Regions from separate parts of the Homo sapiens genome. Here region 1 is linked to region 2. The links are contacts of gene promoters, found by promoter capture Hi-C in blood cells and fetal thymus (Javierre and others, 2016). All regions are on one chromosome and are shown on one strand. Each heading gives the region's core, a stretch centred on a gene start or on the middle of the fragment in contact. The rest is flanking DNA. Distances are from core to core; before and after follow the strand shown.

Region 1 (6,487 bases), core at 1,284-3,783, 270 kb before region 2:
AAAAAAAAAAACATTAAAGTCCTAATGTGGAGGCAGAGAAAAACCCATGCTGCTCACTGTCTGTGGCCTGATGCCTCCATCTCTTTCTGCGGGACCTTTGTCCCAGGTCTCCCTCTCCTGACCTAGATGAATGAATGAAATGAACTAATGTGTACACAGACTCTGTGTACATATGGCTTTGATTTGGGAGAAAAGATGAATCACTCTGAGCTGGTAATCTGATCTTTGCCCTTCTGCTAGTAAACAGTTGAAAGATAACTCAATACATTCTCCGTCTGCCTTTTAAAACCAGAATAGCAAATAAAGGCCCTAGAGGGGCCTGGTTTGGATGGGGGAAGCCATTTATCACCTTCAGGGAAAAGAGAATGTAAATAGGTCCACATTTATTCTCCGGTCCTCCCGTGGCCACGACAGCCTTAGAAATACTCACCTTGTTTCAGTTAGCAGGCCAAGGGTCAGCGGTCAACAGAGCTGCTCCAGCAAGCTCTGTGTGGTGCCTCAAACAGGCCACACAAAGAGATGCTGTTTAAAATCGGAATTCCTTTCACCCTGAGTAAGTTTCCAAAGCAAAGGGGTCACCCGGTGAGTGTTGGTGCAGTCCTCACTGTTTGTCCTGCCTCTTGCTACAGAGGACATCTGGCAAAAGCAGATCAGAAAATGAAAGAAGTCTGTCCCAGTTCTGCCCTCCCCAGGTGGTAGAATTTCTCATGCGATTGTTGCTTGGGGTGTGTCACTCTGTACTTGAGTAGGTGGAGGGTGAACAGACTGATCAGCTGGCTATGAGATGAGAGCAGGATGATGATCATTCACTGGGATGTGTCTGGCCAACTGGGAAGAGTCAGGTAGCTCAAGGCCTGGAGATTCTCATCAGGGAGAGCACAATGGGGCCAGGCCTATAGCTGAGGTCCAGGCACAGAGGCTGGGCTATGAGAACCAGTGTCCTCAGTGACTGCGACAATGACATGTCCTCTGTCACCACCTGCTACCGTGAGGCCCCAGCCCCGGCTGACCTGTAGACTCAGATCTGGGCCTGAGAGGGAGGCTTGACTTCAGCCCCTCTCATGAACAGAATCCACAGCACCAGGGCTGAGAGTGGTGGCAGGGCCCAGGAACAGTGATATCCAGTAGAATAAGTGTGACCCACCCCAGCCCCCCACAAACCAGAGGGAGTGCTGAGCACCTCCGCCCAGCCTCAGGCAGCTGACTTCACTAAAGGAGGCCAAAAGGAAAGAAAAATGTGACAAGTGTGTTTTGATGGCTGATGCGCAGGCTCCCAGAGAACCTTCAGAAATCAGGTGGGAGTTGGAAAGATTTTTGAATTGTCCTCCTGCAATAGCATGTTGAAGAAAAACTAGCTAAATATACTTTATGTGTAATTCCATGTCCATATGCATGATTTCTTAGGTGGCAACCAAAGGCAAGGAGTTCCTGTGCAAATGGTATTGCCAATATTAAGGTTCTCAATACAGTATATATTTTGTTGTATTCATTTGCTAGGGCTGCCAGAACAAAGTTCCACAAATTGGTTGCCTTAAACAACAAAAATGCATTGTCTCACAATTTCTGGAGGACAGAAGTCTAAGATCAAGGTGTTGGCAGTGTTGTTCCTTCTAAAGGCTGAAGGAGAATCTGTTGCAGGCCTCTCTCCTTGGCTTGAGGACAACCATCTTCTCTCTGTGTCTCTTCCCATCATCTTCCCTCCAGGCATGTCTGGGTCCAAATTTCCCCTTTTTATTATTTTTTATGTATTTATTAATTTTTTTTTTGAGATGGAGTTTCACTCTTGTTGCCCAGCCTGGAGTGCAATGGCGCAATCTCGGCTCACTGCAACCTCTGCCTCCCGGGTTCAAGCGATTCTGCTGCCTTAGCCTCCCAAGTAGCTGGGATTACAGGTGCCTGCCACCATGCCCAGCTATTTTTTTTTCTTGTATTTTTAGTAGAGATAGGGTTTCTCCATGTTGGCCAGACTGGTCTTGAACTCCTGACCTCAGGTGATCCACCCACCTCGGCCTCCCAAAGTGCTGGGATTACAGGCATGAGCCACCATGCCCAGCCAAATCTCCTCTTCTTTATAAGGACACCGGTCATATTGGATGAGTCATATTGGATTACATGCCCACTCTACTCTAGTATAACCTCATTTTAATTTGATCACATTTTCAAAAACCCTGTTTCCAAATGCAGTTGCATTCTGAGGTACTAGGGGTTAGGACTTGGACATAGACATTTTGGGGGACACAATTCAACCCTTATTTGCCAAATCACTTTTTAGAATGATTAAGGCAATTAATGATCTTCTTAAAGTGAAGAAACAACCCACAGAATGGGAGAAAATATTTGCAAACTACCCATCTGACAAGGAATTAATAACCAGAATATATAAGGAGCTCAAACAACTCAACAGGAAAACATCTAGTAATCCAATCAGAAATCAAAATCTAGTAATCCAAATAAAAAATCAGAAATGAATAGATATTTCTCAAAAGAAGACTTACAAATGGCAAACAGGCATATGAAAAGGTGGTCATCGTCACTGATCATCAGAGAAATGCAAATCAAAACTACAATGAGATATCTCACCCCAGTTAAAATGGCTTTTATCCAAAAGACAGGCAATAACAAATGCTGGTGAGGATGTGGAGAAAAGGGAACACTAGTATATTGTTAGTGGGAATGTAAATTAGTACAACCACTATGGAGAACAGTTGGGAGGTTCCTCAAAAAACTAAAAATAGAACTAGCATATGATCCAGCAATCCCAGTGCTGGGTCTATACCCAAAAGGAAGGAAATCAGTATATTGAAGAGATATCTGCACTCCCATGTTTGTTGCAGCACTGTTCACAATAGCTAAGACTTAGAAGCAAATTTACAGTCCATCAACAGATGAACAGATAAAGAAAATGTGGTACATATACACAATGGAGTACTATTCAGCCATAAAAAGAATGAGATCCTGTCATTTGCAACAACATGGATGGAACGAAACTGGAGGACATTATGTTAAGTGAAATAAGCCAGGCACAGAAAGACAAACATCACATGTTCTCACTTATTTGTGGGATCTAAAAATCGAAACCATTGAAATCATGGACATAGAGAATAGGAAGGATGATTACCAGAGGCTGAAAAGGATAGTAGAGGACTGGGGAGATAAGGTGGGAATGGTTCATGGGTACCAAAAAAAAAAATAGAAGAATGAATAATACCTACTATTTGATAGCACGACAGGGAGACTATAGTCAATAATAATTTAAGTGTACATTTTAAAATAATTAAAAGTATAATTGGATTGTTTATACCACAAAGAATAAATGCTTGAGGGTATGGATACCCCATTCTTCATGATGTGCCTATTTCACATTGCATGCCTGTATTAAAACATCCCACGTACCCCATAAATATATACCCCTACTGTGTACCCACAAAAATTAAAAATAAAAAATTTTTTAATCTTGTCAACAGTGTATTAGGACATTGTGTTGTTGCAATTTCCTTAGCATCAAGTTCCGTCTTTAAAAAAAAAAAAAAAAAGCTTACTGATAGGTTTTTAGAGCCTGGTAATTCATTCTTTTTTGTTTTTTGTTTTTGCTCCGTTGCCCAGCCTGGAGTGCAGTGGCACAATCTGGGCTCACTGCAACCTCCGCCCCCTGGGTTCAAGCAATTCTTCTGCCTCAGCCTCCCAAGTAGCTGGGATTTTAGGTGCCAGCCACCACACCCGGCTAATTTTTGTATTTTTAGTAGAGATGAGGTTTTGCCATGTTGGCCAGGCTGGTCTCAAACTCCTGACCTCAGGGGATCCACCCGCTTCAGCCTCCCAAAGTGCTGGGATTACAGGCATGAGCCACTGTGCCCGGTCGGTAATTCATTCTTAAGTAAACTGGCCATATATGAATTGGCCATTTGAGTTCTTTCACAAAATATAAGACTATTTCCCCCCTTACAGTAGCTATTGTTGAATAAGATGCCAAGAAGGACAGCCAGCAATAGAGAATCAGTGCACAGATGCACTGGCAGGATTACCGGGTACATCTCCACCTCACTAACACCTTCTAGAGGTCACCATGAGCGTGGTGGGAAGCAATTTAGAATCAGAAGCACAGGGGTTCAAATCCCAGCTCTGGGACTTTCTAAATGTGCTCTTTTTCCAACTTTTTGAAGCCTGTATTATCTTATACGAAAAATCTTATCCTCTTCACCCAACTTTTCAAGGATTAAAAAATCCTCACATGGCATATTGCTGCACCACACTCTGTGGTGCATTATGGATGTCCAGTAAGGTGCATGGACCCTAAAGCTGCTCTGAGGACCAGATTCTCCCCATGGAGTAAACAGGCCACAGGTTGTTAAGGGAACCAGATGCTCGTGAACAACAGACCATTCATATGGATTAGCGAGTTTCTGCAAGGAAGAAGAGGGCTTGATCATCTCATTATTTGTTTCATGTGTCAGAATTGAATCACAGTGGAGCATTCATTGACCTAAAATTAAATTACTTGTCATATTTTTTATTCAACCATTTCCTCCTTTCCTTGGTAAATATAATTTTTTCTCATTCTAATGAAGCTCCTTGGAAACATCAAATCACTGCTTTATTTTAATCAGAGTAATTAACCAGTGATGGATGAGGCACAGGTAGCACGTGGATTTGGTGGGGGAATCTTCAGTAAGCAAAGGGTGGTGCCAGGGTGGCTTTACATTGGTCCCTGGAAGAGTGGTGAAGTTGTGCCCACACCCCGAAATGTGTAAGATCAGCTGTGACCCCTGGTGGAGCAAGAAAGCAAGGCTGTGAAAAATATAAATTGTCTTATCATTTTCTTAGAAACAAAAGACAACTCTAACTCAATAATTACCTTCTGTGTATCTATTCTCTTAGAAGTCAAGGAAAACCCTATCTATAGAATTTATCTCATCATCAGTTTATCCTCATAAAATAGATTCTTTCAAATCAGCCCCACTTCCAATTTTGAAATGGATCTTACCCCTATTCAGATAAAGTCTGAGTTCATTGTGCACCTTCACCTTTCTGTATGTAGGTCTTGGTCACACCAATGGACGCGCCAGGCCCAGGCTGTGGGTGCTTCCTGGGCTCTCTGTCTGTCACTTCTCCTGAGCCCTAGAGGAACACTGCACCCAGCTGCAGCTTTTCATATACCCCTGCACCCCCAGGGCACGGCCCAGAGGGAAACTTGACTCTTTGGCTGCTTCAGTGTATCTGGCCTAAGACCAGAGCTCCTGCTTTGGCGATCAGTCATCTACACACCAAGGTCCCTGAGATCTTGCCATTTTTCTAGAGTACTCCCCAGAGAGCAGGACTCAGAGGCCCAACCTCAGGAGACACTTCTGTCTATGCCTGTCTCTCTCTGTTCTGTCTCTCTTTCTATTTCTGTGTCTGTCTTCCTCTGTCTGTCTCTGTCCCTCCTGTCTTTGTCTCTCTGTCTCTCTATCTCTGTCTCTGTCTCTCTGTCTCTGTCTCTCACACACTCCTCACATCTGTCACTTCCTTCCATAACCCATGGGGTACAGAGGAATATATTTTTCTTTTTCCCTCACAATCCTCCCCACAGGTAGTAAAGATTGTGTGTGTGTGTTTCTGTTTTTCTCATGCCTTCTTAATTACTTGACTGATTTGCTTTGGGAAATCAAAGCCAGCTGGGCTCAGGAGTTTTGTTGTTGATTGTTTACTGTTTTGCTTTGCCACTGTCATGTCCTTTCTCGGGTGCAGTAGAGATCTAGCTATTGCTGGAATGAAGAAAAGGGAAAGGGGAGAGGGAGAAGGGGAAAAATAGCAGGGAGCAAAAAGAATTTGACCAATTTCTGAGAAAAGTGTAAAAATACTGTCTTCCCACACCATGAAATGCCTGCATTCCAAAAGCAGCTTTGTGGGTGAGAGTGATGGTGATTCGGTCCCGTGGCCGGCAGGGCAGCCAGCGAAGGGCTGGGCCATCCTGCAGGAACAAGATGTTCTGATGCAGTGTGGGCGAGCGTGCCTGACTGTGGGGAGGAGCCGCCGCGCCTGCAAACAGGAGTGCCATGAGACACTTAGTGGAAAAAGCATTTCTGATGACAGTCTCCATTCCTGGGCACTTTCAGATGTTTTATAAAATTTTCCAATGTTTATTTCAACTGCCAAGTATATGATGTTTTCTTCATTTTACAGCAGAGGAAACTAAGGTATCAAAAGACTAAGTAACTTCCCCCAAAGTGTGCCCCTAACTCTTGAGTTTCCTATGACAGTGACTGGCCCAAGCATCCATCCAACATCTCAAGCCAGAGGCCCAGTTCATCCTGGACTTCCCGTCCTTGGCCACTTTCTCCCCTGACATCCAATCAGTGAAGCAACCCCTGTTGCCGGCCACCCACCATTTGCTTCACCTGCTTCAACCACCTTGTTTTCTGCCTGGGTTTTTACAGTGGCATATCCAGGTGGTTTCCTGCCCAGTCAACTCTCCAACCAGGCTCTAAAAATATTGTGGCCAGGTGCGGTG
Region 2 (5,698 bases), core at 1,614-4,113:
AATGTTTGAGTGACTGCCCTGACTGGGTCAGATAGACCAGGGTGGGGAGCCCGGTCCTGGAGGGAGCCCCATATAGCTCGAGGGGCAGGGGACAGAGCAGCAAGGCCAGGCATCCATGGGCACACGTCGCTCCAGTGTAAACAAAAACAAAAGAAAAGAGCACGCGGTGAACATTTCCTGCTCTGTGTGTGTGTGTGTGTGTGTGTGTGTGTGTGTGTTCCATACGTGAAACTCTGTACTAGGCGAATACTTATTTTCTCTTGCCTGGCCTCTTTGGGAGAACAGAAGTACAAAATGGAAATTTGCATGTGTAGCTCTCAGAAGCAGCTTCTGAAACTTTGAGGACTCATAAAAGAGAAGAATGAATAACAGACCTGGGTCTGGATCCTGACTCTGCTTTGTCTTACCCATGTGACCTTGGGCTTCAGTTTCTTCCTCTATAAAACAGGAATTAACCCCTACTAAGAGGACTGCGGAGAACTGAATTCAACAGCTCCCCAAGCACAGGGCCTGGTGGCTTCTGCAGGAGTGCTCTTTTCCCCTTTTAATACCTTAATCTGCATCATTGTATTAGGAATCACTGTAGATGTCTACAGTGTCAGTTGCTGGAAACTACTCTTTCTGCAGTTGTGGTACTGACGCTAGTAGATTTATTTCATGAAATGTTGCCTACCGCTAGCATAAATCACTATGCATTTTATTTATTAACTGTTAAATGACAAGAAAGTATATATATTTTCTAAATTTTCTTCTGAGAATGGGGTCTGCTCTTTTAAGCAAACAAATTCCATTTAGTGGGCTTAATTAGTGCCTCAGACTTAGCCTGAGGCCCACCTGAAAGTGGTTCCATATGGCTAATGGCAGAGCCGTGGGCTTAATATTTTCTGACACTGGAATCCAAGTGCCTCTTGCTCGATGCTGCCTTGGTTCTGGCCAGCTCTGTGACCTTTCCCCTGACTGGCTGCCCTTCTTTCTACTCCCCCCAGCCTCCTGCATTTGCACAGGCTCACCCTGCCTTGGCTCACCCCACAGAGGACTTCCGTAGTCCTGGCCCACATCGCTGCAGCCAGGGTATCTGGGCCTAGGGCAGAGCTGGGTGCTGCAGGTGTCCCTGCCTGCTTGGTCTTGGACTTCTGATGTGATTTCCCACAAGCCCCTGACGAGCAGGTACAGATGCATCCCCAGCCCTCCGCCTCTCTCACCTGTGCCTGGCGTTCTGTACTGCGTGTGCGTGGACTCTCCCACTCAGACTCTGTTTGCGTTGGCCACCATCGCTTTTACTCCCGCTTCTCTTGAAACACGTTCTGGCCGGTGGTGTGCAGATGAGGGTTTATACCCTGCTGGGGGTGCAGCGGGCTGATTGGCAGCCTCTGCTGATTCCCCTGGTGAAAATACCTCACCTCCCCCCGCCTGCTTCCAAGCTACCAGCCTGACATTAATCAGCTTGAAACACTCCTGAAAATGCCATTTGGCTCCAGCACCTCCTGCCCATCAGCTCTGGTCACAGGGGAAACGTCCCTCCTTCCACACATGTGGCCCCAGGTGCTCTTTCTGCTGACTCTGGCTGCCATCTGCAGGAGCCCTTGGCCCCTTTCTAGAAGACCCCAAACTCTGTATTCCCCTGTGTGAGCTCACATCCTGTTCAGTGATGTCCTTTTTTGACGTGCTTATCTTACTACCCCTTTTTTCAGACCACCATTCAGTTTTTGAACTGCTCAGAGTCTATAATGTATGCTTCCTCCCATTATCCTGTCACCCCTCCTCCAGGCTCACTGGGGTCCTCTCCTCTCCTCAATCCAGGGCCTCTTCACCTCTGGGCTTCTGGGCTGGGTGGCATCGGGGCCTCTCCCCAGCCCTGTGGCACCGTGTGCTCCTTCTGGATCACAGCTCTTCCTCTCTGACCCTGCCTCTGGCTCTGTCCAGGTTAGAAATCCACTTGTCATAATGTGTGTGGTTTCGTCCACTGCTCTCCTGAGTGGTCTGTCCTTACCCCTTCCCTCTGCCGAGATGGAGGAGGAAGGTGTGCTGCAGTTGGGGAGCTGCAGAACGGCCTGTTCTCTTTCAATGTTTAGACACCATATGCAGTGCATCTTTTTAAAATTTCTACTACAGTCATTCTTCCACATGGATGCCACCCACCCTGGCATCTAGCAATGTCATCTCTGCAGAAGCTTATCTCCGGGACTTTCTGGCAGTCCTGGGCCCTGGCTCTGGCTGGGAGACTGCATTCTGGCTCTGAGTGTAGGTTCCCAGTGGGATCTTGTTCCTGAGACCTCTCTATGGCCCGTTCAGACTCAGGTCTTCCAGAGCCTGAGTTCAGGCTGGGAGAGGTGTTGGAAGCCCGCCCCTGTTGGGACATAACCATCCCTGTCAGGCTAGGAGAGACCTCTGCAGGCCTCGTCCTCAGGGCGGGGGTCGTGGCCCTGTGCCCACCATACTTCCAGATACCCCACTCTGTCTCGTGCAGCCCCTGCCCCAGACGCTGCCCTCTCATGTTGTCAGCGTGTGTGTCCATGAGTCTCAGCCCCCTAGACCACAGGACAGGCACTTAGTTGATGTGCGGCACTGAAGCCTGTGCTCTCTGGCGACTGCACCAGTGTTGCTGTGCATGCGCCTTCATGCCTCTCATTGAGACATGGCTTCACGTTCCATGGGGAGAAGAACGTTTCTTTTTTTTTTTTTTTTTTTTTGAGACGGAGTCTGGCTCTGTCGCCCAGGCTGGGGTGCAGTGGCGCAATCTCGGCTCACTGCAAGCTCCGCCTCCCGGGTTCACGCTATTCTCCTGCCTCAGCCTCCCGAGTAGCTGGGACTACAGGCGCCGGGGAGAAGAACGTTTCTAATCAAACCGCTGGCTTTATTTTTGTGGGGCTACTTCTGAAGGGTAGGTTTCCTAGTGAAGCCCCCATTTCTTCTTTTTTTCAGCCACATTTTTATCAGCGGGGCCAAAACCCATAACGAAGCATTCAAATCCCCACCTCCAGATTTTGAATTGTAAAATAAAACTTGTTTCACCATGGGTTTCCCCTTCCCCCCTTTTGTAAAGCAGTTAATTTTAGGCAGGGATTCAGGAAGTGCCTACTCCCATTTTCTGTCAAGCACAGAAATAGCTCGCGGGGCGCCCTCTCTCCGCCTCCCGGGAGCAGCTGGCGGAGTTCATTTTTGTGTGTTTCTAGGCATTTCAACTCCTGCCTTTCTGCGCACTGTGTGTGTGTCTGTGCACCCTCAACTCCAAATTACCCTGGAACTTTCCGAAGCCCGCAGGCTTCCTTTCTGTTCTTAATAAAGCGGTGTGCAAGGATCTGAGCTGTTAACCCTCCCTTATCACTGGAAACTGCCCCCTGTTCAGAAGGTCTTTAGAATAACAAACTCACAACTGTGTCTTTCAGGGGAGGTGGAGTGGATAGAATGGCTGAATGGTTGCAATACTGTGATGTGAGAAATTCTGCTTTCAGAATCTTTATCTAAAACCTTTCGCTTTTTCAGAGGTTTCTTTACTTCTAAAAAGCATTTGGAGGGGAGTCGATTGAACCTCAGGAGGTTGGTTAGAAAGCTTAGCACTGCCCAGCAAGAGCTGGAGTGGCCCAACCTTGAACAATGGGTGGGGTCAGTAGGAAGTAGACTTGTGGGCATTTTAAAGGTAGACCTGTTAGGATTGGCATACCCACCCGGTGGGTCAGAGGCACGGCTTGTGAGTAATCCTTAGGTTTTGAATTTGAGACACTGGGCAGAGAGGAATGCCACTGGCAGGATTTTGTGAACAGGGGTGGAAGTTTAGCTTTAGACCTGCAGGAACCAGTTTAGGTTTCATGGAATATGTTTATGTGGACATTAGAGTTAAATGGAATGCCATTATCAAGATTTTGTGAACAGGGGTGGCAGTTTAGCTTCAGACCAGCAGGAACTAGTTTGGGTTTCATGAAATATGCTTATGTGGACATTAGAGTTGGCCAGTTGGCCATTTGCAGCTCAATGCTTAATTTTAAAAGATTTGATAAGTTGTGAGCTCTTAGGGTTTCTCATGTTTTCTTTTCTTGTCAGCTTTTTTTTTTTTTTGAGACGGAGTCTCGCTCTGTTGCCCAGGCTGGAGTGCAGTGGCGCGATCTCGGCTCATTGCAAGCTCCGCCTCCTGGGTTCATGCCATTCTCCTGCCTCAGCCTCCCAAGTAGCTGGGACTACAGGCGCCCGCCACCATGCCCGGCTATTTTTTTTTTTTTTTTTGTATTTTTAGTAGAGACAGGGTTTCAGCGTGTTAGCCAGGATGGTCTCGATCTCCTGACCTCGTGATCCACCCGCCTTGGCCTCCCAAAGTGCTGGGATTACAGGTGTGAGCCACCGCGCCCGGCCTCTTGTCAGCCTTCTTTAGAGCAAAGGACAGTTGGTAAAACCCAAACTGTTCATCATGTGATTGTTAAACACTCTTGCCAAAATGTATTTCAGGGAAAATTTCTCTGGTGCCTACCTTTGTGGAATTTACCATTTTCTTCCCTGAATAACTGTTGTATGTTTATACCTTTTCTTCCATTTTAAACTGAATTTCGAAGGCAACTGCTAATTCTTTCTCATCTCCGAGTGCCCCGAAGTGTGATATTTGATATGCCATTCTGCAATGAATGAATGAATGAGAGGTTGAGACAACTGACCCAAAGTCTGGCGAAGTGACCAGCTCACTTATTTGTGCTATTCCTTTTCTTTACGGATGACCACTGAACATTGACTGTCAGAGCTCTGCGCTTCACTCTGGAGGGTGGTTTTATTCGAGATCTGGGCATCCCCTCCCTAGGGGTGACCACTTCCTCTGCCTTGTCATTAGCAACAGGTCAGTGGAAGCCAGGGCTTGATATGAAGAGCCTGCTATTGATTTCATATGGAAACCTCAGATGCCACAGACCCCCAAGAAGCAGGAGCTGGGGGTGGCATTAGCTGATGTCATCGCCCGAGGCTCTGCTCCCTGTGAGCTCAGTGCCGTCCTGATGAACGGGCCTTGGCTCTCACAGGCAGTGGGAGCTCCTCCTGCTCCAGAGCTCCATGTCCGGAACCCCGCCTTTCTCAGCATGAGGCTGGCGTGGTTGAAAATACAAACACCTGCTTGCCTGCTCCCTGGTGGATGTGGGGCCCACCCCTCATTTTAAAAGCCTCGGAAAACTGTGCTTTGTTTTAGTGTTACTGCCTCCTTGGACCTTTTCCTTTAAAATAAGAAGAGGATATTACAAAATCACAGGAGCAGAGGGTCATAACATTTCTGTGCTCTTCTCTTGAAGCAGAAATAAAAGCACATCTTATTTGTGTGTCTCCTGAAGAAGGGGCCTTGCCACTGGGCCTTGAGGCACAGGCACCTGCCCAGTAGGAGGTGGGCAGGTGGTTTTCCAGGCAGAGGGAGCAGCCTGGGCTGAGGCTCACAGGTGGGAGGTAGGGTTAGGCAAGGGAGTTGAGCCTGGACTATGTTGGCTGCAGGTGAGGAAAGAGGATAAGAAGAGATCAGGTGTGGGGAGCTGACAGTGCCAGGCCCTGGAGTCTACCGTGCGGCAGGCAGGGCAGCCTGCCGATATGCGGCTGTGTCCTCCATGAAGGCCTGCGCACCAGGCACATGGGCTCCAAACCCAGCCTTCCTGCTGCTGGCCAAACAGAGAGCTGTGGTGAGGGGCTGCCCCCACTGTGGGGTGGCCAGAGCCATGACAGAAAGCCAGTGTAGGGTGGACAT

What was found. The method cuts DNA at HindIII sites, captures the fragments that hold promoters and counts their contacts. A CHiCAGO score of 5 or more calls a contact.
Region 1: the fragment with the promoter of LINC00525 here is called in contact with a fragment that was not itself captured in region 2 in 6 of 17 cell types (total B cells, naive B cells, M1 macrophages and 3 more); the score reaches 17.9 in total B cells.

What each region holds. Positions count from the first base shown.
Region 1 is chr7:47,757,522-47,764,008 of GRCh38, reverse strand. It overlaps LINC00525 (long intergenic non-protein coding RNA 525), which reads right to left and starts at 2,533. Exons shown (of 3, transcript NR_038407.1): 1 at 2,496-2,533; 2 at 431-636. The HindIII fragment of the contact is 4,383 bases long and covers 1-3,536 here.
Region 2 is chr7:47,492,183-47,497,880 of GRCh38, reverse strand. All of the region lies in intron 3 of TNS3 (tensin 3), which reads left to right. Among named protein-coding and RNA genes, the nearest start is that of SNORD151, 30 kb to the right of the region's middle. RefSeq lists enhancers at 135-214, 515-634, 3,701-4,292. The HindIII fragment of the contact is 1,379 bases long and covers 2,174-3,552 here.